Regions from separate parts of the Homo sapiens genome. Here regions 1 and 2 are each linked to region 3. Evidence: promoter capture Hi-C in 16 types of primary human blood cells and fetal thymus (Javierre and others, 2016). All regions are on one chromosome and are shown on one strand. The core of a region is centred on a gene start or on the middle of the fragment in contact, and the rest is flanking DNA. Distances in the headings are between cores, read along the strand shown.

The links. The method cuts DNA at HindIII sites, captures the fragments that hold promoters and counts their contacts. A CHiCAGO score of 5 or more calls a contact.
Region 1: a contact is called between a fragment that was not itself captured here and the fragment with the promoter of MYH6 in region 3, in 1 of 17 cell types (M2 macrophages). The highest score is 5.3, in M2 macrophages.
Region 2: a fragment that was not itself captured here is called in contact with the fragment with the promoter of MYH6 in region 3 in 1 of 17 cell types (erythroblasts); the score reaches 5.0 in erythroblasts.

Annotation. Positions count from the first base shown.
Region 1 is chr14:23,879,013-23,881,883 of GRCh38, forward strand. All of the region lies in intron 2 of LINC00596 (long intergenic non-protein coding RNA 596), which reads right to left. Among named protein-coding and RNA genes, the nearest start is that of LINC00596, 22 kb to the right of the region's middle. The HindIII fragment of the contact is 1,773 bases long and covers 615-2,387 here.
Region 2 is chr14:23,129,938-23,132,833 of GRCh38, forward strand. SLC7A8 (solute carrier family 7 member 8) reads right to left here. Exons shown (of 11, transcript NM_012244.4): 8 at 1,524-1,620. Among named protein-coding and RNA genes, the nearest start is that of CEBPE, 12 kb to the left of the region's middle. The HindIII fragment of the contact is 927 bases long and covers 1,118-2,044 here.
Region 3 is chr14:23,406,616-23,409,635 of GRCh38, forward strand. It overlaps MYH6 (myosin heavy chain 6), which reads right to left and starts at 1,658. Exons shown (of 39, transcript NM_002471.4): 1 at 1,638-1,658; 2 at 961-993; 3 at 408-621. The coding sequence starts at 608. RefSeq lists enhancers at 1-2,828, 511-1,011. The HindIII fragment of the contact is 15,953 bases long and covers 1-2,571 here.

The DNA of each region.
Region 1 (2,871 bases), core at 251-2,750, 470 kb after region 3:
TTATTTTGTTTTCTACCTCTTTGCTGCTAATATATAATAATGTAAATTATTTTCAAATATGAAGTTTGTTCTGTCAACTTGTTAAATGTATTAATTTTGATAATTTATCTATAGAGTCTTTCGGATTTTCTAAATATCCAATCATCAGATGATCCATGAATGATAACACCTTATTTCTTCCTTTCCAATATTTATGCCTTTTACTCATTCTCTTGAATTACTACACTGGGTAGGATTTCCAGTATAACACTGAAAAGGTGTAGTATTTGTGGGCATTTTTGTCTTGTTCCTGAACTCAAAGGCAAACTTTTCAATGTTTCTTCAATTCCATGTGTTGGCACAGAATGTGAAGCAATGAGAACTCTTATATGCTGATGATAGAAGTATAAATTCATACAGCTATTTTATAAATAAAGTCATTAACTATTAAAGGTAAAGATATAATACTCTATGAGCTAAAAATTCCAATTCGGCCGGAAACTATAAAACTACTAGAAGAAAACATTGGGGAAATTGTCCAAGACATTGGTCTGGGCAAAGGCTTCTTGAGTAAGACCTGAAAACCACAGGCAACCAAAGTAAGAATGGGCAAACGGGATCACATCAAACTAAAAAGCTTCTTCACAGCAAAGGAAACGAATAGCAAAGTGAAGAAACAACTTATAGAATGGGAAAAAAATTGCAAACTATTCAACTGGCAAGGGATTAATAACCAGAATATATAGGGAACTCAAACCACTCAACAGCAAGAAAACAAGTAATCCAATTTTTTTAATGGGCAAAAGATGTGAACAGACCTTTCTTGAAAGAAGATATACAAATGGCCAACAGGTATGTGAAGAAAATGTGCAACATCATTAATCATCAGAGAAATGCAAACCAAAACCACAGTGATATATCATCTAAACCCAGTTAAAATGACTTTTATCAAAAAGACAATAAAACAACAGGTGCCAGTGAGGATGTGGGGAAAGGGGAATGCTCATACGCTATTGGTAGGAATATAAATTAGTACAGCCATTTCGGAAAACAATATGGGGGTTCCTCAAAAAACTAAAAATTAAGCTACCATATGATCCAGCAAATCCCACTGATGGCTATATATCCAAAAAAAAAAAAAAGGGAAATCAGTGTATCAAAGAGATATCTGCACTTCCATGTTTATTCACAAATAGCAAAGATATGGAATCAACCTAAGTAACCATCATTGGACGAATGGTGGTACACATACAACAATGAAATATTATTCAGCCATAAAAAGTAATGAAATCCTGTCATTTGCAACAACATGGATGGAACTGGAGGACATTATATTAAGTGAAATAAGCCAGACACAGGAAGACAAATATCACATGTTCTCACTCATATATGGGAGCTAAAGAGTCGATCTAATGGAAATAGAGAGTAGGTTGATGGTTACCAGGAGCTGGGAACTGTGGAGGTGATTAGAGGATGAAGAGGGGTTGGCTAACAGGTACAAAAATACAGTTAGATAGAAGGAGTAAGATCCAGTGGTAACACAATAGGGCAACTATAGTTAATAGTAATTTTTGTATATTTTGAAATAACTAGAGGAGTGAAATTGGAATGTTCCTAACACAAATAAATGATAAATGCTTGAGGTGATGGACACCCCAATTACCCTGATTTGATCATTATACAATGTATGTTTGTATCAAAATATCAAACCCCATAAATATGTAAAACTATTATGTAGCTATAAAAAATTTTTTGGCCCAGCGCGGTGGCTCACGCCTGTAATCCCAGCACTTTGGGAGGCTGAGGCAGGTGGATCACAAGGTCAGTAGATTGAAACCATCCTGGCTAACACAGTGAAACCTCATCTCTACTAAAAATACAAAAAATAAGCTGGGTGTGGTGGCAGGTGCCTGTAGTCCCAGCTACTTGGGAGGCTGAGACAGGAGAATGGCGTGAACCCAGGAGGTGGAGCTTGCAGTGAGCCGAGATGGTGCCGCTGCACTCCAGCCTGGGCGACAGAGCGAGACTCCATCTCAAAAAAAAAAAAAAAAAAATTTAGGAAATTTCAATTCTGGATATATGCCCAATAGAACTGCATGCACATATGCCCTAGGAGGCATGATAAGAATGTTTTATAGCAGCACAATTTATAGAAGTGCAATTTATATAACTGGAACAAGTTACATTTCTATCAACAGTAGAATGGATCAATTGTGGTACAGACATCAATGAAATATGTATTGGTTGTCTATCATACTACCCCAAAACTTAGTGACTTTTCATTGAGTTCACAATTTTATGGATCAGCAATTTAGACTGAATTCAGCTGGGGAGTTCTGGTCTCAACTGAGCTGCCTCATGCATCTGTGAGATTCTTTTAATTTCTGAGGGCTTAGCCCACACAACCAAGCTTACTCAGCTGTGTTCCACATACATCATTCTCCAGCAGTCTAGCCCAGCCTTTTTCATGTGGCTGAGGCAGGAGTCCTGAAATACAGAGCAGAAGCACACAGGCTGCTGGAGGCCTATGCTCAGAATAGGCGTGTGGTCACCCTGACCATATTCTATTGGCCAAAGGAAGCCACAATGCCAGCCCAGATTCCAGGGAAGAGAACTAGACCCCATTTCTTCATGGGAGGAGCTCTAAAGTCACATTGCAAAAGGCATGGGTATTGGAAAGAGTGAAGGACTGTGAGTGTTTCTTTAATCTACCACTGAAAACTGGGATTGAAGTGAAAAACAATAACCTGCTACTACACATAACAACATGGATGAATCTCATCAATAATGTTGAGTGAAATAAGCCAGGCTACACAGAATGCATACTGTATAATTCCTTTTATATAAAGTTCAAAAACAGGCAGAACTAAAGTGTAGGGTTTATAAATATAT
Region 2 (2,896 bases), core at 331-2,830, 280 kb before region 3:
CCCCTAGTAACCCAATATGTTACAACATCTTTATTGCTAGGAAATCCTTTCTTATTACAGGGGTGATGATCAAAATATTTAACCACTCGTATGGCACGGGCACTAGCCAATTAGAATGGATACTGGACATAAGCAGCTAGACTGGCCACACTGGTATTACCTGGCTCTGTGTCAGCCCCGGTCTCATTTGTATGCCTCTGTTGGTTATAGCTCAAGCTAAATTCATTTTTTTAAAATCCCTTAGGGAAGATTGTTAACAACAGATTAAGGCTGTATTCCTGCCCTCATCCTTTTCTCCTGGCTGAGTCATCTATTTTTCTTCCTTCCTTTTCTTTATTAATTTCAAAACTGGTTACATAGCACTTACTGTGTGCCAGGTCTCTATGTTTAGCATTTGACAAAGATTAACTCACTTAACCCTCATAACATCCCTATGAGGTTTTCTTGACAGAGTCTACTTTCCAACTTCAAAATCATCTCTGTGGCTCTCTTGGAACCATGCTCCTCCCCTCTGATAACTTGTGAAGGTCAACAAAAGGTTCTGTTCTCTTGTGAGATCCGATGGTTAAAATAATCGAGAAGATTTTAATGGTTCTTGCTACATCTGCCTTTTAGTCACACTACTGCACCAATAGCTCTAACTGGAAAAAACAAAACAAAACAAAACAAAAAAATGTGTGTGGCCCACTGGGAGTACTGTCTTCTCCAGCCACCTTCGACAACCAACCAGTCAAGGTGACCTTCATCCTGCATCTGAACATTCTGAAATTGTACAGCAATGCTGTAAAATGCTCTTGGCTCCCAAGAGCTCTGTTATTCTGATTGCTAACTGCTTCACCAGTGGACCAAAGTCATTTTTAGTGTTTTATTCAGGATCCAGAAGGAAAATAAAAATAACTCAAAAGACTCAATGGGGACAAGTCTTTGTTCCTTCCTATAGCTCTCTCAAAATGATTCTACTCTGGGGATATTTTACTCCCATCTCTTTCCTGTCCCAAGTTTCCTTTGCACAGTTTCCAGTTTATCAGTCTTCCTCTATTATTTTTCGTATTTGGTGTACTGTTAACACTAACTTCATTTCAATGATGTTTCCCAAGAGACTGGCAGGCTGCCCTGAAGCTTGATGGGGGAAGTGGGTGTTTGCAGGGACCAACCAGCCAGGAGCAGAGGCCAGTGCTGCAACCCTGTGGTAACAGGTGCGAGGAGAGCCAAGGGAGATATATTTTTTTTGAGGCTGTAGAATCCTGAGACAGTCAGTTCAGTCTGACCCAAAAGGATGGGAGAACGGAAATAAGTCAGCCTGAGAGCCTTAGGTATTTCAAGACTCAGGATCTTTCCTTGCTATATCTCTTGATATTAACAAAGATGATGGGTATCATTTGCCAGATCCTCTAAGATCCAGTGAGACCTAGCAGCAGACTGCAAGGGTAACAGGGGTGTGTGTGAAAAGCATGAACTCCCAGCTTAGACTAGGCACAAAGAGAGGGAGGTGTGTGGAGAGTTACAGCAGGAAGGGCCCTTACTGTGAAGAGCAGGGCTGGGATTGGGGTGCAGCGCTTCACGTGGATCATGGCCAACACACTGGGAAGGTGGCCCTCTCGGGCTCCAGCGAAGAACAGCCTGTCAGGGAGAAAAGCAGGTCAGCCTGGGATAACCCAGGGACCACCAAGCCCCAGCTCCTTCATCCTTGCCTACCTTCTGCCCACACAGGGGCATCCCCACTCCAACCAGGCACCCGCCTTCACATGCATACTTTCCACCCCACCAGTCACAGAACCTGTGTTCACAAATGCAGGTGCAAGCAAACCAGAGGCAGCCAGTGGAAAAGTGGATGAACCCTGGGTATGTTAGACCCTGAATGTGGTATGGGTGGCTCAGGGTTACTGATAATTGTACTGTCACTCAGTGGGGTGTTCCCAATGCCTGGAAGGCTGCAGGAGCAGCCTCTGTCTGTTGCCTAAAATCTTCATCTCTTTAAAAGCATTCCTCACATCCTCAAAGGATGCAGATTCCCTAATACACTGGGACTGAACTGCATATGGAAAGCTTTAAAAACACTCTATTTTTTTTTTTTTTTTTTTTTTTGAGATGGAGTCTGACTCTGTCGCCCAGGCTGGAGTGCAGTGCTGCAATCTCGGCTCACTGCAACCTCCGCCTCCCAGGTTTAAGCAATTCTCTGCCTCAGCCTCCCGAGAAGGTGGGATTACAGGTGTGTGCCACCATGCCCAGCTAATTTTTGTATTTTCAGTAGAGACGGGGTTTCACCATCTTGGCCAGGCTGGTCTTGAACTGCTGACCTCGTGATCCACTTGCCTCGGCCTCCCAAAGTGCTGGGACTACAGGCGTGAGCCACCGCGCCTGGCCTAAAAACACTCTTGTCCTAGTCAGAGAGTAGTTAGTTGTCTTTGTGGGAGTAGGGAATTGGTGGTGGAAATGTTCTCTATCTTGTTTTGGGTAGTGGTTGAATTTTGACAACTGTCAAAATTCATCAAATGGAAGCCAGGCACAGTGGCACACACCTATATTTCTAGCTACTTGGGAGGCTGAAGCAGGAAGATTGCTTGAGCCCAGAAGTTCAAAGCCAGCCTAGGCAACATAGTGAGACTCTGCCTCTAAAAAACAACAATAAAAAACAAAAATGAACAAACACAAACAAAAAAACCCCCACAAAACTCATCAAAATGAACATTTATGATCTGCTTTTTTTTTTTTTTTGAGACGGAGTTTCACTCTTGTTGCCCAGGCTGGAGTGCAATAGCACGATCTTGGTTCACCGCAACCTCCGCCTCCCAGGTTCAAGCGATTCTTCTGCCTCAGCCTCCCGAGTAGCTGGGATTACAGGCATGCGCCACCACACCCAGCTAATTTTTGTATTTTTGGTGGAGACGGGGTTTCT
Region 3 (3,020 bases), core at 408-2,907:
GGGTCTAAGAATTACTCTTGATTTGGGTGAACGGAATTTGAGAAAGTGGACTCATGGAGGAAACTGAGGCACAGGGAAGAGGGATACAAGTGCAAGAAGGGGGCATCATTTAATGCTGTGTCTGTGCCCTCTTTATCTACAAGACCCCTCTTAGGCGAACACTGAGGTTCTTCTTCCTCAGCATCCTCTCTGGCAGGGGGAACATGGCCCTGGGTGGCACCTGTTGCACCAGCTCAGGTCAATTTGAGAGGGATCAGATTCTGGGCTCCTCAAAGGAGCATGTCCTGGCATCCCCACTGGCCTTGGCTTTTCTCCAGCCCTCTCAGCTCCCCCTGCAAGTGGCTCCACCTCTGCATCTTCTTTCCCAGACCTCCTTCCCTTCTGCCCCGGCGCCATGCCCTACTCACCTTCCCATTCTCGGTTTCAGCAATGACCTTGCCTCCCTCCCGGGACAAAATCTTGGCTTTGACAAACTCTTCCTTGTCATCGGGCACGAAGCACTCAGTGCGAATGTCAAAGGGCCGGGTCTGGGCCTCTAGACGCTCCTTCTCTGACTTGCGGAGGTACTGGGCCGCTGCCCCAAAGTCAGCCATCTGGGCATCGGTCATCTTGGTGCTTCCCCTGGGTCAGAGACAGGAGGGCTATGTTACTCCTGAGGGAGCCCAGGCTCCAGCGAGTGGCTTTGTCCTCTGCAGCCCCCCTCCCTACCCCCGCTCCTCTCCTCCACCCTGGGAGAGGCACCTGCTGTTGCACCCTCCCCTACTCAGGGCTCTGCTTCTCCTGCCCTCTGAGGTGATGCTGAAGGACAATCTCTGTAAGGGGTTTCCCTGGGGTGGCATTGGCTGGAGTATGCTAAGGGTTGGCGCTGAGTGCTTGGGACAGCAGACCCCTGGTCCAGCAATCCGGCTCCCAGGAGAAGCATGCCCCAGTCTCTGCAGAGAAAATGGGGGCAGTTCTCACCTGGTTATCCCTTCACGGAGAATCCTGAAGAATCTGGACCGTGGGTGGAGCAAGGAACAACAGAGGTAGAGCCGGGCAGAGAGAAGAACAGATGAGGAGAGTGAAGAACAACAGAGGCAGGCCACCCGGGGATGGAGGCAGCCCCAGAGCGCAGACAGGCAGGACAGACCAGGGAGTCAGAAAGGGAAAGACGCAGAGGCAGAAAAGAAAGGGCACCGAGTCAATATGAGTGCGAGGGACGGGGTGTGGAAACAGGGTTAGAAGCAGAGAGGCAGGGAGGTGAGAACACGTGCCAAGAAGGAAGGACAAGGGAGAGAGACAAAGAAGCATGATTGTGACAAGTGTCGATGAAGACCAAGAGGCAAGATAAAACCAGGATCAAGGGAAGGAAGCCATCCAAAGGAGGAAGGAAGATGGAAAGATGGAGACAACATGTAGGAGACTCAGAATGATGCAGAGAAAGAAATGGAGAGTCAGAGAAGGAGAAAAGAGGTTTCTGGGTTTCCTGTGGAACCTCCTTGTGTCAGGGGGAACTTCCCTGGGCCTGGAGATAGGCAGTTTTAATAGAGCCCTTAGGCCTCCAACTGACCTGCACCCCACTCCTGGTGAAGGAGGTCCCTCACGGTGGGGGCTCTGTGGACGGGCTGCAGGGCATCCCACCCCAAACCTCCTCTTACCTGGGCCGCAGGAGTCTCTCTATCTGTCCTCAAAGCTCCAGTTCCTTTATATCCCGTTTCCCCCACCCTCTGTCTAAATTTGGAGTCCTTCCGGAGGGACCCTCCCTCCCACCTCTCTCCCCTCCTGGCTCCTCCTCCTTTGATCCTTTGGCTCTGGAGGTGACAGGAGGACAGCAGGGCCCCCTGATTTGCCCAAGAAAGGTCTGCTGCCCCAGCCTCTCTGGCTCCACGGCCTTTTTTTAGTCCTTGGGCACATTCCTCCCCTTCAAAGGGCTGATGAGCAGATAGTGGGAAGACAGGACCTTCTCACACCGCCTCTCCCACCCTGCCATGGCCCTTACCTCAGTTATTTTTAACCCGAAGGGTGAACTGAAAACATGGGTGAGGGTCACCTTCTCCTGCAGGCCAAATGCCTGTCCTCCGCCTCCCAACCATGGGCTTTCCTCCCCTGTTCCCCAGCCTCTCCTTCCCATTCTGACCTCCCTCACACAGTCCCAGGCTGGGAGCATCTTCCTGCTGTTAGTACTGGAGCCCCCAGTGCTAGGGACTAAAAGCTGCAGTATGGTGCCCAGGGAAGGGATCTGTTGTCCATCTCCATGGCTCAGTTTTCTTTTGTCAGGAAATTCTGTCCTGGCCTCAGTCTGCATAAGTGCCATGCCTGGTCTCCTTCTGTTCCCCAAGTCTTCAGACAAGTGTTCTCCCAAGGTCTTGAGGCCACCCTGGTTTGGGGACACGTCTGGAGTCCCCACCCCTTCCCTAATGCTCCTGATAGAGTGGCCAACATCCAACCTGCTCACGCAATGGCAGTGATTCTCCCTGCCGCCTCAGGCAGATTTTCACACAGAACCCCAGTTCAGCACTCTCACATACAGACTTGACCGTGTCTGTGCCCATCTTCAGCCACACATGCAGATTTTTCACACTTACCCACTCAAGCTTGCAGATTTCTTTTCTACTTTCTTTTGTGTACATGGATGCACACATTTGCACATCCGCATTTGCACACATAGGCTTTTGCCCTCCCCTGCTACCCTCTGCTCCTGGGGTGGGGTGGGCAGAAGAAGATGGTGCTAATCCTAGGGCCTGAGAGAGGAGGGGGGTGGGTGAGGGGCTGTCCCCTTCTGCCTCACCGGGCTGCCAGAGGGTGCAGGTGCCTGGCAGGCCTGGGGATTTACACCATCTGGTCCCCAGGCACTGCATTCCATCGGGGTGGGGCTCTGCCACCTGCCCCCTCCCCAGGCAGAATTTTGTTGCCCCTTTCCAAGCCCTCCAGGGCTTATACTCACATTCCCTTCTTTGTGGGTGTCCTCAAGCACCCTAGGCCCTCAAGGCCCCGCTCCCCATCCTCCAATGCTGCCATCTCTCAGAGGCTGTAGGTGTCAG